Linked DNA regions of Homo sapiens: regions 2, 3, 4, 5, 6 and 7 are each linked to region 1. Evidence: promoter capture Hi-C in 16 types of primary human blood cells and fetal thymus (Javierre and others, 2016). All regions are on one chromosome and are shown on one strand. The core of a region is centred on a gene start or on the middle of the fragment in contact, and the rest is flanking DNA. Distances in the headings are between cores, read along the strand shown.

Evidence for each region. Contacts are between HindIII fragments. The CHiCAGO score rates a contact against its expected background, and 5 or more counts as called.
Region 2: a fragment that was not itself captured here is called in contact with the fragment with the promoter of LPIN2 in region 1 in 4 of 17 cell types (non-activated CD4 T cells, naive CD4 T cells, neutrophils and 1 more); the score reaches 7.5 in non-activated CD4 T cells.
Region 3: a fragment that was not itself captured here is called in contact with the fragment with the promoter of LPIN2 in region 1 in 1 of 17 cell types (activated CD4 T cells); the score reaches 5.3 in activated CD4 T cells.
Region 4: a contact is called between a fragment that was not itself captured here and the fragment with the promoter of LPIN2 in region 1, in 5 of 17 cell types (activated CD4 T cells, total CD4 T cells, non-activated CD4 T cells and 2 more). The highest score is 7.3, in activated CD4 T cells.
Region 5: a fragment that was not itself captured here is called in contact with the fragment with the promoter of LPIN2 in region 1 in 2 of 17 cell types (activated CD4 T cells and total CD4 T cells); the score reaches 7.4 in activated CD4 T cells.
Region 6: a fragment that was not itself captured here is called in contact with the fragment with the promoter of LPIN2 in region 1 in 1 of 17 cell types (naive CD8 T cells); the score reaches 5.1 in naive CD8 T cells.
Region 7: a contact is called between a fragment that was not itself captured here and the fragment with the promoter of LPIN2 in region 1, in 4 of 17 cell types (activated CD4 T cells, total CD4 T cells, neutrophils and 1 more). The highest score is 7.2, in activated CD4 T cells.

What each region holds. Positions count from the first base shown.
Region 1 is chr18:3,011,629-3,014,858 of GRCh38, reverse strand. LPIN2 (lipin 2) reads left to right here and starts at 1,715. Exons shown (of 20, transcript NM_001375808.2): 1 at 1,715-1,772. RefSeq lists a silencer at 1,325-2,274. The HindIII fragment of the contact is 8,581 bases long and covers 1-3,230 here.
Region 2 is chr18:2,652,407-2,655,636 of GRCh38, reverse strand. It overlaps the pseudogene CBX3P2. Among named protein-coding and RNA genes, the nearest start is that of SMCHD1, 1.7 kb to the left of the region's middle. RefSeq lists a silencer at 1-68 and an enhancer at 1,103-1,732. The HindIII fragment of the contact is 2,993 bases long and covers 287-3,230 here.
Region 3 is chr18:2,669,092-2,672,321 of GRCh38, reverse strand. All of the region lies in intron 3 of SMCHD1 (structural maintenance of chromosomes flexible hinge domain containing 1), which reads right to left. Among named protein-coding and RNA genes, the nearest start is that of SMCHD1, 15 kb to the right of the region's middle. The HindIII fragment of the contact is 3,598 bases long and covers 1-3,230 here.
Region 4 is chr18:2,685,533-2,688,762 of GRCh38, reverse strand. SMCHD1 (structural maintenance of chromosomes flexible hinge domain containing 1) reads right to left here. Exons shown (of 48, transcript NM_015295.3): 6 at 255-369; 7 at 16-135. Among named protein-coding and RNA genes, the nearest start is that of SMCHD1, 31 kb to the right of the region's middle. The HindIII fragment of the contact is 3,334 bases long and covers 1-3,180 here.
Region 5 is chr18:2,707,127-2,710,356 of GRCh38, reverse strand. SMCHD1 (structural maintenance of chromosomes flexible hinge domain containing 1) reads right to left here. Exons shown (of 48, transcript NM_015295.3): 16 at 2,712-2,794; 17 at 2,437-2,550. Among named protein-coding and RNA genes, the nearest start is that of SMCHD1, 53 kb to the right of the region's middle. The HindIII fragment of the contact is 2,132 bases long and covers 371-2,502 here.
Region 6 is chr18:3,303,875-3,307,104 of GRCh38, reverse strand. No RefSeq gene overlaps it. Among named protein-coding and RNA genes, the nearest start is that of MYL12-AS1, 43 kb to the right of the region's middle. The HindIII fragment of the contact is 5,888 bases long and covers 1-3,230 here.
Region 7 is chr18:2,724,294-2,727,523 of GRCh38, reverse strand. It overlaps SMCHD1 (structural maintenance of chromosomes flexible hinge domain containing 1), which reads right to left. Exons shown (of 48, transcript NM_015295.3): 21 at 2,529-2,625; 22 at 1,000-1,072. Among named protein-coding and RNA genes, the nearest start is that of SMCHD1, 70 kb to the right of the region's middle. The HindIII fragment of the contact is 5,322 bases long and covers 1-3,230 here.

The DNA.
Region 1 (3,230 bases), core at 466-2,965:
TACCTATGTTTCTGTAGGGCCTTGATTACAGATGGGGCAAAACTTGATCGAGTTTCACAGAAAAGCAGAAGGAACTTCAGTGAAGAAGTGGTCGCCTGCTCCCTGAATCCAAGCACTGCCCAGCTACACCAGGCACTGGTGGGAAGAAACTGGGCTGCAGCTGGATCCTTCAAGGAGCAGCTTTGTGTATGCAAATGCCTATTTCAGTACCCTTAGAACTGTATAAATGATCACACACAAGATGCACCTCATAAATTAACTGCCATTTATATAGAAGTAACATAGGCTTCTGTTCATTACTTTCAATCATAGAATAGTAATAGAATAGGCTGCAAATTAAAAACCAGTGTGCACCAATAGTATATAGCACCAGCAATCCAGTTTTTTTTGTTTTTTTTTTTTTTGAGACAGAGTTTCGCTCCCAGGCTGGAGTGAAGTGGCGCAATCTCTGCTCACTGCAACCTCCGCCCCCCGGGTTCAAGTGATTCTACCGCCTCTGCCTCCTAAGTAGCTGGGATTGCAGCCAACATGCCCGGCTAATTTTTGTATTTTTAGTAGAGGCGGGGTTTTGCCACGTTGGCCAGGCTAGTCTCCAACTCCTGACCTCAGGCGATCGACCCGCCTTGGCCTCCCAAAGTGCTGGGATTACCGGCGTGAGCCACCGCGCCGGGCCCCATTTCTTTTCTTTCTGAGACGGAGTCTCTCTGTCGCCAGGCTGGAGTGCAATAGCGCCATCTCGGCTCACTGCAATCTCCGCCTCCCGGGTTCAACTGATTCTCCTGCCTCAGCCTCCTGAGAAGCTGGGATTACAGGCACGCGCCACCACGCCCGGCTGGTTTTTTGTATTTTTAGTAGAGACGGGGGTTTCACCATGTTGGCCAGGCTGGTCTTGAACTCCTGACCTCAAGTGATCCGCCTGCCTCGGCCTTCCAAAGTGCTAGGATTACAGGCGTGAGCCACCCATTTCTTAAAAAGTATATTTTAATGCTGGGGACGGTGGCTCATGCCTGTAATTCCAGTACTTTGGGAGGCCGAGGTGCGGGGATGCTTGAGCCCAGGAGTTGGAGACCAGCCGGGGTAACAGAGCGATAAAAAGAATAAACAAAAAACAACAGAACCCCGGCATATTTTTAAAAATGAGTTGTGTAATAGGATTTTTTTTTTTTCGGTGGAGATGTAAGTAAGCAAAGGAGATGTGCTACTAGTGATCAAAAGGGGATTATAAAACATTCATTCCCTAGACTTTTTTTGCACTTTAACATTCCTTTTTGGCAATTGGGCTCTCAGTCCCACGTGACCTGCCGCAGGGTTGCCATGGGGACCGGAAGAAACTTTTTTTTTTTAAAACAAAGTAAGGCTCCTGTCGCCCGAGGCACTAGAAAATCGAGGCCCCGCCCTCACTTGGCCAGGGGCCCGGGCGCGCAGCCCAGGGACTGGGAGCGGTGAGAAGCCGCACGCCTGGCGCTCGGCGGCGGGGGCGCGGCGCGCGGCCGGGAGCGCGCGTCACGTGGCTGGGGCGGGGCCTGCGCGCTGCCCGCCCGCCAGCTGCCGGCTCGGCCGCCGCAGCCGCGGCGTCCCATTCATGAGGGCCGCCCGACTCAGCTGCGGCCCAGGCGGCTTCCAAGGCAGCGGCGGCTGCGGGCGCTCCGACCCCGCGCGCGCCCCCGACCGGCCCCGCCCCCTCGGCTTCCCTCCCCGGCGGGTCCTAGCCGTCGCAGTCCAGCCGCCGCCTGCCCTCAGCCGCCCGCTGGCCGGGAGCGGAGCCCCTGTGGGTAAGTGGGCGCGGGCCGGGCTCCTCGCAGGCGTCCCTCCGGGGCTGGCGGTGAGTGTCTGCGCCTGGGGGCTTCCCTTGGCGCGGGCCCGGGGCTGTCCTGCCGGAGGCCGGGACCCTCCGGGGCGGCGCGGGTTGAGCCGCCCCTCCTCGCGCCGCGGTCCCCGCTTCCCGGTCCTCGCGTCCCAGTCCCCGCCTCGCCGCGACCGCGCCACGTAGACGCGGCCCCTACCGCCGCCGCCGCAGGACGGACCGGCGGGGTGCGCGGGGAGCCGGGGGCGTCGGGGCGTCAGTGGTGGCTGCTGAGGACTCTGAACCCGCGCAGTTCCCTCGCCGCCGCCCTGGGGATGGTTACCCGAGACCACCCCTACCCCTGGGTTTGGGGCGCGGAGGGGAGTGCGGAAGGCGCGCGGGAGGCCGCGTCTCCATCCCGCCCCCGGCCCTGCGGGAGGGGGCGCCGGGCACGTGATCTGCGGCGAGGCGGGGGCCGCCGAGTTGCTGGTGTTTCTTCCCCGCCGCGCTTTGCCCCGTACCTCCGCCTTCAAGCTGTGTGGACCGGATTCAAATGTGGTTAGTTTTCTCAAAGCCCCCCAGCCCCCGGTGCAGATCTTAATTTGTGAGGAACACGTTCAGATACAGTTTGTACTGAGAGCCTCTCTGTCCACTTCTAACGCCAGCGGATCACCATTTTCTCCACTCGCCTGAACATTTTAAGACTCTTTTCATTGAAAATTCAAGATGACATTTTTTAGGCATAATTATGCAAACCAGTACCAGAAAGATCACCCTTCCTTTCCGAAAAGTACTGGAACTCTGAATACTTGGAAATGCTTTGAAGGACTACTTAGTAAATGGCCAAACTAATTTTTAATGCACATTTGGGGCTTACCCATTTTTTTTTTAATTGAAAACGAGGCTCTAGACTTGGTGTCAAGGTAGGTCCTGTTGAATGAAGTTCTTTACCCAGTAGTGATGATGGGTGTTACTGTTTATTAAAACTTGGCCTGGCTAGATTATAATGTTTTGACAATACAAAGTCGGTTTTGAAATACATTTTGAAATATTTACGAATTATTTAGTGGCCCATACTGGTTTATGTTTTAACGGTCTGGTGTTGATCGTTCTTAGTGGCTTCAGATTGAGAAGAAGTGGCAGGTGATGCTGAAGCGGGGGAGAAGCGGCAGAGCCGGCCACACAGTGCAGGGGATGGAGACAGGTGCTGGGCTGGTCCTCCTGCAGCATCCTCAGTTGTTGGAGGGCAGTCATCCTCAGGCCGTACCCAGCCAGAGAAGAAAAAGAACAGTGTGAAGCCACGTGTGATAGCCGTCCAACATCGGCTCTTCCCTCCAATTACATTGTAGTTGATTGTGGTATGTCAGACTGAAGTATCTCTTTTATTTCGAGACAGAGTCTCACTCTGTCGCCCAGGCTGGAGTGTAGTTGCGCGATCTCCGATCAC
Region 2 (3,230 bases), core at 534-3,033, 360 kb after region 1:
GGCTTCGCCGCGCGCGCGCCCGGGGCCCGCCCCCTCGGCCCTCGCGAAGTTGGAAGGAGGCTGAGTCTTTCGCGGCTGCCTGCGCCCTGCGGGTAGTCCTCAGAGGCCGAGGCGGGAGAGCAGGGCTCGGGGGCAGCGGGGGAATCTCCCGAAGAGCTGTGTTCTCTCTGTGGAAAGGGCCCCGCTGCCTTCCCGCCTCTCCAGGATCCCGACTGAGCTTGTAGGTGCCGCGCCGGCTGACTGAGCCCTCTCTGGCTGGGTCGCGTGGACGCGGCGGCGGGAAGCTTCAGGCCGGCGGTACTCGCCGGGCGCAGAGTCCACCAAAGCGAGCACGTGGGTCCCTCTGCCGAGAAAATAGGCGCTACGAGAGCCGGCGCCCCTTTTTCCTCCTCATTTCTTAGTAGTACTGGGTGGGCTCCAGCGTGGGCCCCCGAGGCAAAGCGGGTCCGTGAGAACGTCAGAAGGGCGCTCTGTGACGTCACAGCGTCCCCGCCCCCCGCACCCTCTGGGGGCCCTGGAGCGCCGACGGCATTCGGGGTACGGGGGTGACTCCAGCGCCCTAGTTTTAACGCTGCCTGCGCTTCGCGGTCTCCCACGTGCGTGTAAATTCTGAAAGAACCCACGCCACAGTTACTAGGGTTAAATTAGATGTTCGCAAAATTCTTAAGGCCTAATACGTTTTCAATCAAAGCCTTTAATCGTCGTTACCGGGCAGCGTTTCATTAACTATCCTCATCGTGGGCAGGTAGTGCCCTAACTCAACAAATAAAATGCCATTGTTAGAGGACTAGGTTTACTCTCCAGTTCTTAGAAATCGTGAATACTGTATACTTGAGAGTGGTATGTAAATTCAGAAACCCAAAGGTAGCAGATAGAGGGGTTTTTCAAATCTCAGAATATAAGCCTGGATAATAGTGCGTTTTCTGTTTTACTAGGTTTGCTAAAACCTTATATGGACAGACTTACAAAGTTAGTGTTATGTTAGAAACCTAGATTTGCTTGTGGATGTCAAGACGTTTCAAGATCGTGGGGAATGTGTGTATAAATTGACTACACATATACTAGAGGTAGACACCAACTAGAACGAAATTGTGAAGGCGTGTTTGGGGAACATACATTGTTTGGCTGGAAGTGAGGAGAACTGAGCGGTAGATGGTGGAAGATAAAATTGGAAAGACATAAACTGTGGCCAAATGCCGTTCATGTTCCTTAAGGTGGAGGTGGAGGAAAAGAAAACAAAAAAGTAACCCCCGATTCTAATGGAATTTCTTTGAAGTCTGATGTTTTATTTACCTTTCAAATTCATGCGAATGTCTCATTCTATTCCTTTATATAGTGGTATTTGAGTTAAATGACTCAAAGAAAAACACAAATTGTTTTTCTAATTCTTAGTTAATGGGTAAGATGAATTGCCTCTCTACTTCAGCAAATTGAGATTAGAGCTGGAGATTCGTCATCAGGGCAATTTCTCATTTCTTTGTAATACCAGATTATACAAGCACACCTCTTTCATGTCTTTAGAAGAGATTTCAGGATCATCTCTAAGAGATTTTTTTTTTAATGGTGCCAGAGAAGTGTACTGCAGTATTATGGGCAGCTCTTGATGGGAACATTGATGTCTTACCTTGTTGAGAGATCGAGTCTGAATCAGTTTCTTAATGGCAGTATGGCATCACTTTTGTTCTCAGAATATCAAACAATTTTTTCATCAAAGAAAGATGACGAGTTTGTTCTTTATTTAATTGTCATCACAAGTAAATAAAAGCGTTTGAAATGACCCACTTCCTTAATGAGTTCTCTTCAATTGACTCTTAGTTTTTGTTAATTAGCTATCTTACTACAGAGTAAAATATTTAAGTGGCCTTGTATCAGTTATTTATTGCTACATAACGAACTTCCCCAAAACTTAGTGGCCCCTGAAGAAGTTCCCCATTCCCTTCTTCCTTGCATGTAGCTCAAGTTTGAGTCAGGCAGGATTTGAGATGCCACAGACCCAGACCAGGTGCAGCTCAGAGATGGTGAACGAGATGGTGAACAATAGCTCTTCATGTCTGCAATTAAAAATGGCCTCCAGTAAAACTACAGTCGTCCTTTGGTATCCTTGGGAAATTGGTTTCTGGACCGGGACCCCCATGGATAGGAAAATCCAAGGCTGCTCAAGTCCCTCATATAAAAGAGCGAAGTATTTGCATATAACCTACATACATCCTAGATTACTTATAATACCTAATGCAATATAAATGCTATGTAAATGGTTGTTATACTGTATTGTTTTTCATTTGTATTTTTTTGTTTTATTGTGATTTTAAAATATGTTCTATCCTCGGTTGATAGAATCCAGGAATGCGGAACCCGAGGATACTGAGGGCCACTGTACATTGCAAAAAAATGGGACAAAAGACTTAGTGGAAAGGGTATAAAAGCTGATGAAGCAGAGCCTGAGGATTTTGTGGTGGAAAAAGTACTACACCAAGGTGTGGTGAATGGGAAGGTGGAATATTCCCTGAAGCGGAAAGGATTTACACTTGCTGACAATAATTGAGAACCTGAAGAAAACTTAGATTTTCCTGAGTTCATTGAACTATTTCTTAATCCTCAAAAAAACTGGTAAAGGAAAAGATAGTACAAAAAGAAAATCTTTATCCGAGAGTGAATCTGATGACAGCAAATGAAAGGGATGCTGCTGAAAAACCAGGAGACTTTGCCAGAACTCTTGATCCTAAGCAAAGAATTGGTGCCACAGACTGCAGTGAAGAATTAATGTTTCTAATGGAATGCAAAGACTCAGACGAGGCTGACTTGGTGCTGGCAAAGAGGCAAACGCAAAGGGGCAAACACGAAGTGTCCTCAAATTGCAAATTATTTTTATGAAGAGAGACTAACTTGGCATTCCTGTCCAGAAAATGAAACTCAAAAATTGTTGCACTGCAGTATACTGCCATATAGTGTGTGTGTGTGTAAAACCTAGGTCTTGATTTTCTTATTAGTGTGAAATACTCTATTTTTAAAAAAATAGAGATAGAGTCTCACTATGTTGCCCAGGTTGGTCTCAAACTCTGGGCTCAAGTGATCCTCCTGCCTTGGCTTCCCAAAAGTGCTGGGACTACAGACGTGAGCCACCCTGCCTGGCCAGCTATTTTCTAATGAAATCTATTTTCTACTGCAAAATCTTGTTTTGAAGTAGAATCAAAAGAGTTTTTGGGGTTTGTTTGTTTTGGGTATTTGTTGGG
Region 3 (3,230 bases), core at 305-2,804, 340 kb after region 1:
CTGGGAGGCAGAGGTTGCAGTGAGCCAAGATTGCACCACTGCACTCCAGCCTGGGCAACAGAGCGAGACTCTATCTCAAAAACAAAAACAAAAAAACCAAAGTAGCACTCCAGCAAGCACTTCTACTCACCCTAAACACTCCAAGGACAGCTATGTTTATAAACGAATTGCAAAGAAGTTACCACAAATCAGATTATGTACAAGGGTAATCTGGCTAAGGTAATAACTCCAGAAAATGAAGAAGGGACACTGTAGGAAATGGCAGGAAAAGAAACCTAAAGAGAAATTTGGAAGGAAGAAATGAGTAGAATTTAGAATCTGATTAGATGAAAAAGAAGAGGGGAAAAAGAAATTTGCTTCATCACACAGGTACAACAGTTAAGGCTTGGATCAGTTTACTGAAAGTATAAAAAGAAAAGATCAAGGCCAGGCGCGGTGGCTCACGCCTGTAATCCCAGCACTTTGGGAGGCCAAGGCGGGCGGATCTTCAGGTCAGAAGATCAAGACCATCCTGGCTAACACAGTGAAACCCCGTCTCTACTAAAAAAATACAAAAAAATTCGCCAGGCGTGCTGGTGGGCGCCTGCAGTCCCAGCTACTCAGGAGACTGAGGCAGGAGAATGGCGTGAACCCGGGAGGCGGAGCTTGCAGTGAGCCGAAATAGTGCCACTGCACTCCAGCCTGGGCGACAGAGCGAGACTCTGTCTCAAAAAAAAAAAAAAAAAAGAAAAGAAAAGATCAACATAACTTGAAGAAATGTCCACCAGAGTCAAAAAGAACCAGAAGTAGGGAAACAGAAGTAGGGAAAGACCCGGGAATGTACTGTAAAGTCACAGAAATCAAGGCAAGATTTTAAACACTGGGGTTTTCTGCTTATCCATATAATGATGGTATGAATGAAAACTGATACGGTTTTCAACTGATATGGTTTCAACTGATAGGGTTTTCATATCATTTCATAATGATGGCATGATGAAAACTGATCAATATGAAACATAAACTACATTAAGAGTTTAAAATACTTCTGTTGACTCTATAATTATACACTTAGCAATTTATCCCCAGGAAAATAATTAAAGATTCATGGGCCAGGTGCAGTGGCTCACGCCTGTAATCCCAGCACTTTGGGAGGTCGAGACGGGCAGATCGCCTGAAGTCAGGGGTTTGAGACCAGCCTGACCAACATGGAGAAACCCCATCTCTACTAAAAATACAAAATTAGCCAGGTGTGGTGGTGCACGCCTGTAATCCCAGCTACTTGGGAGGCTGAGGCAGGGGAATTGCTTGAACCCAGGAGGCGGAGGTTGCGGTGAGCCGAGATCACGCCATTGCACTCCAGCCTGGGCAACAAGCCAAACTCCATCTCAAAAAAAAAAAAAAAGAATTAAAAGATTCACTCAATTTTCTTTTTTTTTTTTTTTAGATGCAGTCTCCCTCTGGTGCCCAGGCTGGAGTGGCAGTGGCATGATCTCAGCTCACTACAAGCTCCGCCTCCCAGGTTCAAGCGATTCTCCTGCCTCAGCCTCTCGAGTAGTTGGAATTACAGGCACCCACCTCCACGCCTGGCCAATTTTTGTACTTTTAGTAGAGACGGGGTTTCACCATGTTGGCCAGGATGGTCTCGAACTCCTGACCTCAAGTAATCTGCCCGCCGGGGCTTCCCAAAGTGCTGGGATTACAGGCGTGAGCCCAGCCAGATTCACTCAATTTTAAAATATTTAAGCACCTATGTGCCAGGCATTGTTCTAGGAACTGAATAAAGCAGATGAAGGTTCTGTTCTTAGGGATTTAACATTCTAATGGAGGAATATGGGAAAGAAAATATAATCATAATAAATAAATTCTATAGCATGTTAGAAGATGGTTTGTGCAATAGAGAAAAAAGAAACAGCAGAGAAATGAAATCAAGTAACAGTAAAGACACAGAAGGAATACAGTTGCAATTAAATAGACTAAGTTTTGTTGAGAACACAACAGATAACCAAGACTTGGAGGAAGTGAAGAAATGAGTGCAGGGCTAACTGGAGGAAAAGCATTCCAAGCAGAGGGCCCTAAGCTGAGAATATGGATGGCAGTGAAGGGGAGTGAAAAAGTAAGAAAGGTAGTAGAAACAAAGTCAGAGAAGTACAAAGCAGAGCTAGTAAGTCCCTGCAGGCAACTGTAACGACTTTGGTGTTTACTCTTAGTGAAATGGGGAGCCATGGGTGTTTTCAGCAGCGAGTGACACAATCCAATTTCTCAAACCTTTTATGGACAGGGATGAAAAGACAGGTACCAGTAACTACTAGTTAGTGTAATCTGGGTGATACAATGGTGCCTCCAGACCAGGTGGTAGCAATAGAAATGGTGAGAAATGGTCATTTTAAGATAAAACATTGAGAATAGGACCCAAAGGATTTTCTGTCAGATTAAGAGGTATGAGAGGTATGAGAAATACAAGTATCAATTTGATTTTTGGCCTGTGCAGCAGGAAGGACACAGTAATAATCAATTCAGATAGGGGGAACTATGTGTGGTATAAAATTCAGTGAGCAGATGAGGGTTCCCATTTTAGACATCCTAGAGGAGATGCCACATGGGCAGCTGGATGGATAAAACTGGACTTCAAGAGATAAACCCGGCACCATTTTCAATATTTAACTAAAAATGACCATTTCCTACCTCTTCCTTGTGAGAGTCACTTCTGTAATGATGTTATTTAGAACCATGAGATAGGACCTGATCACCAAGTGAGGAAGTAAGATACAACATAAAGGGCAAGAACTAAGCCCTAAGGCACTTCAATATTAATAAGGTGGGGAGAGAAGAAAGGGCAGGCAGTGAGGTAAGAAGAAAATCAAGGTGCTTATAATCCCACGGCTTTGAGAGACCAAGGCAGGAGAATAATTTGAGGCCAGCAATTCAAGACCAGCCTGGGCAACATAGTGAGACTCCATCTCTACAAAGAAAATTTTATTTTTATTTTTATTTTTTAGAGAGAGAGGCTCACTCTGTTGCCCAGACTGAAGTGCAGGGGTGCAGTCATAGCTCACTATAGCCTCGAATTCCTTGGCTCACTCAAGCAATCCCCCTGCCTCTGCCTCCCAAGTAGCTAAACAAGGCATGCACCAAAATGTCCAAATAATTCCTGTATTTTTTTGTAAAGATGGGGTCATATCATGTCCCCCAGGCCGGTCCTAAAGTCCTGGTCTCAAGTGATCTTCCTGCCTCAGACTCTCAAAGTGCTGGGA
Region 4 (3,230 bases), core at 264-2,763, 330 kb after region 1:
TAAAATGTATTGTACCTTTCTGTTTCTAATATATCCACTATATATTGCCTCTTTATTTTTCTCCTTCTTCTCAAAATCTTCTTTAGAAAGCACAAGCTCGTGAACATCTTGGGAATCTGCAGGTTTGCTTATCATCTGTTAAATATTAAAAAGAGTACTTTTTAAATTCCTAATAAACTGGTTAATGCATTTAGACAGAGTCAACTTCAAAATATTTTGATCAACTTTCATTTATAAGAAATCTTTTTACTTACTCTGGCTGATTGTCCAACAAAGAAGACAGCTTGCTTGCCCCCAACACCAAAATAGGAAATATCACTATTTAAACTGCGTGGCACTGGTACTGGACGAACATATCCTGAATGATCACTAAAATAAAACATTAATGCAGTGATTTTAAACAAGCTAGTTAAGTGTCAAAAGAAACTTTCATTGCACTTGTATTCAGTGTTAATAAAATGATCACGCCTGCAAACACCCCTAACTGAAAGGTGAAATAATCAGTGTCAAGACATCTACTCCAGTGCATCTCAAAGTGTAGTCCCCAGGCCAGATGCATCAGCTTTAGCTGAAAACTTTTAAGAAATGCAAACTCTTGGGCTCAATCCTACTAAATCAGAAAATCTCTCAGCAAACAGGACTAAATAAGTATTTTTATTATCCTCATGCCTCTAAAACTTTCCTTCAAAACTGTTTGCTACTTCAAAACTTGCTAAAATATTGTCTGAAGAATAATGGTAATTAGAGCAAAGGAGAGTCTCACTTCCATATATCATGATAAATGAAGAGCTCTGAGGGAACAGTGCACCATAACAATATTCTGAAGAAGAGGCATCACTGGTCTTTCAAAATGTAGGCAAAGTCTCCGGGGACATCATCCCCCATTATCAGAAATAAACAGAATGAAGGTGAGGCTGGAACCACTATTAAACTCAATGGAAAGATTAAAGAGCAGGTGTGACATAGCTGGAGAGAATTAGAGAACAGAAAGATGCAAAGAACGTAACCACAGGAAACAAAGAAAGAAAAGAAAACTGAAAATATCAAAGTGGCGTTAAAAGACATAAATGACCAAAGGAAAATATCTGGCACAAGATTAAATGCAGCTCTAGAAAGAGAAGGGACAGAGAATGGAAAATAGCTGTAAATATTCTTGAACCAATAAAAGACATGGCTTCACAGATCCAGGAAAACCAAAAGAGCCCAAACAAGATACATAAAAAGAAATCAACATCACTGTAAACACCAAAAACCAAACAGAAGAACTAGAAAATAGACTAAGAGATAAGACAGGACAAAACAGATGAGCAGGCTTTGACAGCAACAGTAAAAGACAGAGAGGAATATTATCTCTATAGTGCCTGAAAAAAATCTGTTAACCTAAAATTGTCAACTAGAGAAAAATAAACAATTTATAGATAAAAACCAAAGTAATTTACCACCAGAAGACTTGTTCTAAAGAAATGTTCCTACAAGCACAATCTAACATACAAGAGGTCACCATAATACAACACATACAAAAGTAATTTTTTTAAGGACTACATATGAGACATTTACTGGTGTGGTGAAAAACTGGTGTGTGCATATTGTTGAATTTCTAAAAAGTCACACTTTAAATACCTTCAATAACAAAAGTGTCATTTCAGGAAGGGAGTGACCAAAGCTAATGAAGTCCTTAAGTTGGGGGAAGGAAAATATTTTAAATCCTGAAATCTAAAGTTAAATATGCATGTTAAAACTTCAAAGAAGATCAGAGAAGATATAAAGTCTAAAATATTAAAAAGAAAAAGATGGAGCAAGAAAACAAAACAGCAGAAGACAATAAATTTAAGAGAAAACAGAAGAAACAGAAACAGAAAGAATGGGATAAACAAAAACATTTTAATTGGTATAAAAAGTCCTATCCTCATATATAAATAATCAAAATAAAGACAACATTGACCAGGTAGGACACTGTAATACCAGAGATACAAAACAACAAAAGCACCCAAAAAAGTATCCCCTCACAATACCCTCCCAACATCTACAATCACATCCCCACACAACATACACAAACTGTCGACACAAAATAACACACAGAAAATGCCTCCCCACACAAGTTTGCATTTATACAAAACACCTCACACAATACACAAACACACAACTACTTTCAACAGAAACACACACCACAATGCTACAAAGCATACACACTGATGATTTAAAAAAAAAATCTTAAAACAAGTCAGAGAAAAACAGACTATATGTTTTGAGATACAAAGATAAGACTGACAACAGATTTCTCCTTATAAACGATGCAAGCTGGTAGAAAATTGAGTGACATATTTAACATACAGGTTTGAGTGCCCCTTATCCAAAATGCTTCGGACCAAAAGTATTTCAGATTTCTGATTTCTTTTCCAATTTTGGAATAGATGCATTATACTTACCACCTGAGCATCCCAAGTCTGAAAATGCAACATCTGAAATGTTCCAGCAGCATTTCCTTAAGTGTCACATTGGTGCTCAAAAAATTTTGGATTCTGGAGCATTTCAGATTTTGTATTTTTGAATTTGAGATGCTCAACTTGTACTTAAATTTTTTGAAAGTCAAGCTCAAACAGATGCTCAGCAAAACTATCTTTGGGGTTTGGGGGGAAGAGAGAGAGCCTATCAGACATACAAAATCTGAAAAAAATTCACCAAGAACAGACTCAAGTTATAAAAGAATGTTTAGAAAGAGCTTCAGAAAGGAAAACAATACTGGACAGATTTACACAAAGGAATGAATACAAGCTCTAGTAAATATGGTAAATATGTGGGTAAACATAAACTGGTTCAGGGACTCAGATTTTGCATGCAAATGTTCATAGCAGCATTATCAAAAGACAAAAGGTAGAAACAACTTGTGTCCATTAATCTATGAACTGATAGACAAAACGCAGTATGGTTGTACAGTGGAGAATTACTCAACCATAAAAAGGAATTAAATTCTGATACATGCTACAACATGGATGATCCTCGAAAATTATGCTAAGTGAAATAAGTCACACATGACAAATACTGTATAATGACAAATACTGTATAATTCCACTTAAATAAGGTACCTTGATTAGGTAAATTCATTGAAACAGAAAGTACAATAATGGTTACCAGGGGCTAAGAGTGGGAGCAACAGGGAGTTACTGTCTAATGGGTAAAGCTTCAATTTGGGGGTACAGGGTAAAAAAACTTTAGGAATACATAGTAATAAT
Region 5 (3,230 bases), core at 187-2,686, 300 kb after region 1:
AATCTTAAAAAACAAGAATAAAGTTGGAGGACTCACACCTCCTCATTTTAAAACTTACAAAGCTACAGTAAACAAAAACAGTGCAGCATGGGCATATGAACAGACATATAGACCTAGGGAACAGGGAGCCCAGAAATAAATTCTCACATATGTGGTCAACTGACTTTCAACAAGTGGGCCAAAACAATTCAATAGAGAAAGTATAGTCTTTGACAAATGGTGCTGGAAAAACTGGATATCTACAGGCAAAAGAAGTTTTCCATATAAAAAGAAGTTAACCATATGCAAAAGTCAAGGTCAGATGGATCAAAGTAATAACAACAGAGCTAAAGCTATAAAATTTGTAAGGAAAAAACATTCAGGAAAAGCTTCGTAACACTGAATTTAGTAACAATCTCTTGGATAAGACACCAAAAGCACAGCCAACAAAAGAAAAAAGAAACTAATTGTTTGTCAAAATTAAAAAGTTTTGTGCATCACAGTCACCATTGACAAAGTGAAAAAGCAACCCACAGAGTGGAAGAAAATATCTGTAAATCATTTATCTGATAAGGGATTAATATCCAGGATTATAAAGAACTCTTACAACTCAACAACAAAATTTAAAAATGGCCAAAGGACCTGAATAGACCTTTGTCCAAAGAAGATATACAGATGGCAATTAGCCCATAAAAAGATGGCCAAAATCACTGAATATTGGGGAAATGCAAATCAAAACCACAATTATCTTTAGTAGGAAAAAGGGGGGAAAAAACCACAGTAAGATACCACTTCATATCTGTTAGGATGGCTATTATCCGTCCCCCACAAAAAAACCCACAGGAAATAACAAGTGGGGGTGACATGGAGAAACTGGAATGTACAATGAGGCAACCACTGTGGAAAACAGTACGGCAGTTTCTCAATAAATTAAATAATAATATGACCCAGCAAGTCCACTTTTGGGAATGTATCTAAAAGGAACCAAAGCGGAGACTCAAAGAACTATTTGTACACTGATGTTCACAGGAGCATTCTTCACGATAGACAACAGGTGAAAGTAACCTGAGTATCCATCAAACAAATGGATAAACAAAATATGGTGTATGTGTATACATGTGTGTGTGTATATATATATATATATACACATATACACATATATACACACACAAGGGAATATTATTCAACCTTAAGAAGGAATGGGAATTCTGACACACTATGCTAAGCGAAACAGGCCAGACACAAAGGACAAATATAATTCCATTTTTATGAGGTACCTAAAATAGTCAAATTCAGAGACAGAAAGTTAAAAAGTAGTTACCAGGGCAGGGAGAAAGGAGTGATGAAGAGTTATTACTATAGAGTTTCAGTTTGAAATGATGAAAAAATGCTTTACATGGATAGTGGTAATGGTTGCACAACAATATGAATGTACTTAATGCCACTTCATAAATTTCATGTTAATATGTTATATATATATATATATATATATATATATATATATATATATGAAGTTATTGAAAATAGAAGCAGGGACCAGCCTGACCAATATGATGAAACCCCATCAAACCCCATCTCTACTAAAAATACAAAAATTAGCTGGGAGTGGTGGCATGTGCCTGTAATCCCGGCTACTCAGGAGGCTGAGACAGGAGAATTGCTTGAACAGGGGAAGCGGAGGTTGCAGTGAGCCTAAATTGTGCCATTATGTATTCCAGCCTGGGCAACAAGAGCGAAGCTCTGTCTCAAAAAAAAAAAAAGCAGGAAGGTCATGAAAGGTGCTGCACTGCTGGCTTTGAAGATGAAGGAATGAGAGTGGTGCTTCTGTGTGATTTATTTATTTTTTAGAGACAGGGTCTTACTTTACCACCCAGGCTGGAGTGCAGTGGCGTGATCATAGCTCACTGTAGCCTCGAACTCCTGGGCTCAAGCAATTTTCCTGCCTCAGCCTTCCGAGTAGCTGGGACTATATAGGCTCGTGCCACCAAGCCCAGCTGAGAGTAACTTCTAAAAGGCAGAAAAGGCAAGGCTCACCCAGAACCTCCAGGAAGAAATGCAGTCCTGAAGACACTTTAATTTTAGCTCAGTGAAACCTGTTTTGGATGACTAATAATACTGTAATCAATACTGTAATTATTACTGTAATTATTAGAACTGTAATAATACATATATGCTTATAGAAATTCCTACTGCAAATTCTTCTACATATATGTATCATGCCTTTACTTTAGCCCAGTTACCCACATGAAAAAATTCAAGATGAAGTATTTTTTAAAAACCTTAGAAAAATATCCACCAAGAAAATGAGCTATTCATAACATTCCTGAAATTCCTAACTTCAATAAAATTTGCTATGCCTATCAGATTGCTAGGTCATCAATAATTACATGAAGATATTTAATTTGATATTATATTTTAAAAACAATATTAAAGATCTAAATTAGTTTGTATACTTACAATGTAAAATAACTTTGAGCTCAACCAGGAGTTTCTTTGACCCTCCATGGCTTGTTCCTGGAAGCTTTTGCATTGCTTCCCCTTTTTTATTCAGTATTTCAATTCTTAACGCACCTATGAGTCAAAAATTAAAAGTATCTTAATTACACCCAAAAATTTGCTGAATCTGCCAAATCTTCCCATTGCATTTTAATATCTCGTGACCTTTTACATATTGGAAATGTAAGACAAAAGAAAAGCACACTTTTTGGTATTAGAAAAATAAACAAACATACCAATAGGGGTTCCAGCAGGCCTAACCTCATTAGGCAATAATTCATCTCCTTCAGGCCAAGTTACTGACAATCTATCAGGGAGCCTGTTATGAAACCAGCATATTAATGTTCCACAAACTTTGTTAATTATGATCTTAATTAAAAAGATACGAGTTATTAGAAACTTAAATATTTATTGCTGATATATTTTAAAAGGTTAAATCTGGAATTCTTTACGATTAATCATCTAAAAATTTTTTTCCTCCCTAACCATTCCTGTGGCTACTGAAAAAAAAGAAGAAGAAAAAAAAAAACCTTTTGGAATTAAAAGCCAGAAACTGTCAAATTTTTGTTGATTTTTTTTTTCTACTTGTTTATAGTACAAATTACCTTTAGAAGACAGGATAACCCCTAAGAATCAAAATTCAGTAAGAATCAAAATGATTGCATCATTAGCTATACAAGAAGAAAAGCCACTTTCTACTTCCTTCTTCTTCTTTATAACTCACTGATAAGGTTTGGCTCTGTGTCCCCATCCGA
Region 6 (3,230 bases), core at 186-2,685, 290 kb before region 1:
CAGTTCATTGATTATGTTTTTAGTCTTCTCTTATCATATTTATCATATCTTTGATTCAAATAATTTTTACCCAAAATGACTTTATAATTAATGATAATAATGTGCAGCAAGACAGAATATTGATCAATGAAACTTGGAGAAATATGAATGACTAATGTCTCTTGAGCACTTATAATGAGCCAGACACTATGCTAAGTGCTTACCATGAGCTATAATAATCACTGCTCATAACACCCCTGTGAAGCGTGTGCTCGTATTTTCTCCATTTTACAGGTGATAAACATGAGGCTTGAAAGGGTTTACAATTTTGTCCAAAATTTAAAGTAATATATATTTACTTTATATTTTACATGAAATGCTGCCTTGAATTTATTTTGGAATGAGACAGGAATTGAAACTTACATTTTCCCCTAGTTCTGAGATTCCAACCTAAGCAATGTGATTTGATATGTGCCTGTTATTTCCTGTTACTCTTGCTACCTGCCCCACGGGAGAGGACGGAGAGGATGATTCAGAACGCATTTCAGTTGCCTGTGGAAGCCACTTTATGACTTCCCAGTGGATCAGGAGGGACAAGGATAGGGAGGGTTTGGGGGGACAGAGTCACCTCCCCAGTGAATAAAATTGGTATTCCATTTCTGACAAAATGTCATTTGGGCTCAAGAAGAAACCTGTACTTTTTAGAGCATCAGTAAAATTTGTTCAGATTTTTAAATGGATCGGTGTCAGGTATGACTCTATCTGCTCACAGAAGAGTAATCGTAATGAAAAAAGACCTCAATTCAACATCACCAATTCTTCCTGTAACCTAAATACCCTAATGCGGTGGAAACACTACAGGGTTTCTCAAAATGTGTGGGAATGCCAATAACACACACTCGGCAGCAGGCTGACCTTGGGCGAGGGCCAGAGGAGACAGAAGACAAGAAGCAACAGAGCAGAGGAAGCGATGAGCTCAGGTCTGAGGGAGAGGAACCAGAGCCTTATCTGCTGCGTGTGAGTACGAAGCAACCTGTGGCTGGAAGAGGAAATCACATAAACATTTGAACAAGGAGGCTCCCTCTAATCCTTAGAAGTCCGTGCTTGCCCTCTGAATGACTGAAGCCCATAGAAAGATGAAATTTACAACCAAGCCACCGGTTTGCTGCAAACATTAGGGCCACAAGAGACAACCCAGCCTGAAAGGTCAGGGGCCCAAGGTTCCACGGCCCAGAAAGCTCTGGCCACTGTGCTCAAATGTTCCACTGTTGAATCTTTTCTCTTCTTGGTAAAGTTTGGCTTCATGACTGAAAACAAAGTACTGAAACTTGTAAATCACTTACAAATTCTGTTTCCATTTTTCTTGTCTGATATCCAATTATTCCGGAGCCTGGCAACTCTAAGTTCATCTAATTAATCTGAAAATTCAACCTAATTGGCATGTGAATGGTGCGGTATACAAAAGCACCAACACCACATTCCTGCACACAGGTAAATGCACGGGCTGCATTCATGCCTCAGCCGGTAAATGAAAAAACACATCCAGACTACCAAGTGCCTGCCAAGTATGAGAGTGCACGGAAACCCTAGGCCCTGAATAAATGCAGCCATGAGTCACTTAACCACAGGACATGTTCTGTGAAACACATGGTAGGCAACTTTGACACTGTATGAACGTCATAGAGTATACTTACATAAACCTAGATGGTCTAGCCTCCTACACACATAGGCTATACGTGATATCCTACTGCTCTTAGGCTACAAACCTGTACAGTATGTTACTGTACTGAATACTGTCAGCAACTATAACACAATGATAGGTATTTGTGTATCTAAACATAGAAAAGGTAGAGTAAAAATATGACAGAAAAGACTAAAAAATGGTACACTTGTATAGGGCACTTACCATAACTTTTATACCAAAAACTATAAAGATACCAGTGGAAAACTTCCAAATTGTTCAAATGTATATTTTGGAAAGAACATTAAAAGTTACAGAAAAGAAGGTTGTTTCCATGCAGTTCAGAAGATCCAACCATCAGTTTAGAGGGAACAGAAAAATATGGTAATGACATCATGATGCAACCATCAGAATGCAGACTGCAGGCAGCTCTAGACTTTGCTACTCTAAGTGTGGTCCATGGATGGTCAGCATCCACCTCACCTGGGAGCTTGCCAGAAATGCCACATCTCAGACCCACTGCAGATCCCTGCACTAAAGCAGAATCTACTAATTTATTTATGTATTTATTTTTTGAGACGCAATCTTGCTCTTGTTGCCCAGGCTGGAGTGCAGTGGTGCAATCTCGGCTCACTGCTCAACTGCAACCCCCAACTCCTCCTGCTTCAGCCTCCTGAGTAGCTGGGATTACAGGCACCCGCCACCACGCCCGGCTAATTTTTATACTGTTAGTAGATACGGGATTTTGCCACATTGGCCAGGCTGGAGAATCTACTTTTTAACAAGATCCCCAGGTGGTTTGTATACACTTTAGCATTTGAGAAGTAGCACTCTATTGGAGAAGGCACCCAATTTCTTCAACAAATAAATTACAACCAAAAGAAAAAGAGAGAAGGTAATAAATAGATTAAAAGAGGTAAGACAGCCTGAGCAACATGACAAGATCCCATCTCTACAAAAAATTTTTAAAAACTAGCCAGACATGATGATGTGTACCTGTAGTCCCAGCTACTAGGGAGACTGAGGCGGCAGGATCGCTAAGTCTAGGAGTTTGAGACTGAGGTGAGCTATGATCATGCCACTGCACTCCAAGCTGGGTGACAGAGTCAGATCCTGTCTATAAAATAAATAAGTAAAAGAGATTAAGAGACCTTCAATAAGATGCAATGTGTGGACTTTGCTTGGATTCTGAGATTTTATTTTATTTTTTTTTTTATATACAGTTTTTACAATTTCAATAGCTTTTGGGGTACAAGTGGTTTTCAGTTACATGGATGAATTGTATAGTTAAGTCTGAGATCTTAGTGTACTCGTCACCCAATTAGTGCACATTGTACCCAATATGTAGTTTTAAAAAATCTCTTATCCCCCTCCTACTTCCCCTTCTGAGTCTCTAGTATCCGTTTTACCACTCTGTATGCCTTTGCTTACCTATAGCTTAGTTCCTACTTATAAGTGAAAACATATGGTATTTGATTTTCCATTCCTGAGTTACTCCACTTAGAATAATGACCTCCACTTCCAGCCAAGTTGCTGCAAAAGACATTATTTCCTTCTTTTTTATGGCTGA
Region 7 (3,230 bases), core at 336-2,835, 290 kb after region 1:
ACTAAGAATTGTACTACTCAAATCCATACTTTTAATAATCTAATCTCTCAAATAAATGAATGTTTGTTGATACGTATGATTTTTTTCTTATACTTCCACCAATGGACCTACCTAAATTCTTTCAACAATTCACACTGGAGGGAAATGTCAAACAACTTCAATTTGTGAAAGCAAATAGCTAATATGTTTCTTTTTGCTTAAAACCAGTAAAAAGGTCACATATGCACACAGATATGGTTGTGGTATCTTTCATATGAGAGTTAAAACTTACATGCTAAACACTGTTGTGTTTTACAGGTGCAGGCAGTTCTTACTTGGTACAGTAGGTGTTAATGAAAACTCACGCATATTGGAACTGTGTCCTCCATTGAGTACTACAGAACTGTGCAAGGCAAGGACTACCTGTAGTAACTCATTTAATCCTCCTAACAACCCCAAGGGAGTAGATATTATCTCATTTTACACATGAAGAAACTGAGGCATAGAACGAGTTTACCTAGATACTAACCCAGAAGGGCTGACTCCAGAATGTACTTAAAATCTCTACCATAGACTACCTCTCAAATTAGCCAGCATATTCTACCCTACGTAACTTTAATGCAACTTCATTTTCTCAGGTTAAGTCATTATCAAGTTAACTTAATAAAAATAACATTAGAAGTTTTTCTTCTTAAAATATGAAACAGTTTTATCAACAAAATGTAAAGAACAGACCCATCTCTAATAAAGCCTAATAGACATATTCCAAGAAACAGTTCCCCAAACATTTTCAATATCCAAATTTTTCTCCCAAGGTTATATTCAGAATGTCAATAACATCTTCCTAAATGTTTTCCTTTTTAAAAACTGGTCATTTCTGTCAGTGCTATGGTTTGACATTTAAGTGTATTTTCAAGATTTACACCACTACTAAAAGCCCAAAAACCTCTAACTTCATATCATTATACTTTAACATAAGAAAATTATTTTAAATAATTATATTTCTTGAAATAATATTACCAGGTAGTAATCTAATTTTCAAAATCTGTGAGTCTTCTTTTAAGCCAGGCAGAGTAACCTTCAGATTATAATTCTGTTGGAAAAAAACAGTAAAAATTAAACCCAGTCCTGAATACATACTTAAGTAGTTTATCACATCAATTCTGATTTATATTTTGGTTTTATTTTCATACCATTGTAGAAATTACTTACCAACTTTATACTTACTAAAATTATCATATATGGAGTCAGAAATCTTAGAGGAAAAAAACTGATCAATACTGCTTCCTTATAGACAGTGAAAGGAAGAGAATTATGGTAGAATCTACTTTTCCAAAATAGGAATATCATTTTAGGATCAATTTTTCTCTTAAATTTTTATTCTCAAAAGGCATAACCTCTGAATAATTATCATAATCAAGATAGATATTATAAAACATATGAAATAGTAAAGTAGAAAGAAACAAAAACCAGAAAATTTTGAAATGCAATGTGGTACTCCATATTGGTTCATGGAACAGAAAAATAAATTAACTGGAGACAAGTAAAAAAAAGTCCACGGTTTTGTCAGTAGTATTTTGTCAATGTGTGGATAAATATATAAAGCTCTGTAAGACATTAACAGAGGAACTTTCTACATGTAACCTCTCTATACTATCTTCGAACTCCTTTGTAAGTAATTTCCTCTAAAGTTATTTCAAAATAAAAAGGTTTTTAAAATCTAGAAATTTTTAGTAAGTTTATCTTACTAAAGTCAAATTTTCTGTGAATTTCAAGTTCTTTTTCCAGAAAAATCTGAATTCAGAAAGAATCAAGAACTCAATTTTTGACTTGATTATACAAAGCAGCATATAGTACTTGAAAAAAATACACATGCTCTGTTTTAAACATCACACGGATAGGGAAAATTTTTAAATATTTAAAGTAATGATACACTGAAAAAAAACTTGCTACAGTGTTCCTTTTAGTCAGTTAAGTCTATTAGCTGCTTTATAGACCTAACTGAAAAATTACCTTATTAGAGTTTCTATCTTTAGCTTCCCTGTTTTTTTTAGACCAACAAACTATGCATAGGATTCCTTCCTTAACTGTATCTCTCACCAAACACTTCCTTTTATCTAAATACCAAAGTGATATGTTTAAAGATGTGAGCTGAAATTTCTCATATTTCTAATTGTCATTTTTGTTCTAAGAAAAATATTCAAAAGTGGACAGAAACAGTAGGAGAGAGAAAAAAAAAAAACAGCAGAGTCCTAGATAACTATGTCGAAAAAATGGCTTTGAATGTGAAAAAACTGAAGTATAGATAACGGGGAGAGGTGAAAAATATTTAATTCATGTTTAATCAACAACAGTAGTAAATGTGCCAACTTTTCTTACAGATGTAACTGATAAGTCAGGTGGCATAATGCTGATAAATTCCTAAGAACCCAATTACTGTCATCTGTTTTTTAAAAATAGGTCATTCCACTTTTCATTTACAATTTCATTCTTACCATATGATAAATAAATACTTAACAAGTATCATAGGATCTATACATAATGCTTACCTTGCCTTGACAAGAGTTTACAGGGCCCTTGGCTGTAACACCTCGAATTACACAATTTGGTCCTTTGGTTATTTCTTCATAATGTAAAGATAAACCACTGGGGAAAAAAAATTATTTTTTAACTCCCCTCAATTGCCTACAAGTAAGCTGCAAATGTGTTTTTGCTTTCCTATGTGACATTGGCATGTCTAGTTTTCTAATAAAATATTTTTTAAATATAAAAAACTAAACAGAAAAAAATTCCAATGGATTTCTTTTACAAAGAAAATTGATCCAACAAGTATTAATAAGTGATACCAATGGGTTAAACACTGAAAATGATATAATACATATAATGTAAAATTAAAATAGCACATATTGAATTAGTAAAGATACAATGTAGTACCTAATCTAATGCTAGACCATGTATACAAGCCTAAGGAAAGGAAATAAATACCTAAAGAAGCCAGGTTTAAGGATGTCCTCAGCATTTACCATGAATTCTTTCAAATCTTTCACCAGTGGGATTTTAGAGAATTCTGGGCATCTGTTATTAAACTGAATGGCAATTTAGATAAAGTCCAAATAATAACAGACAGGCTTATGATGACATAAACCGAAGACATCACCTAATCTACTTCCATGAGTAATATGGTTCCTAAAGCTGATTCCAAAGCTAATTTCATCAGATTTGACCAGATGTAGATCTTTGCAGTGGCAAAA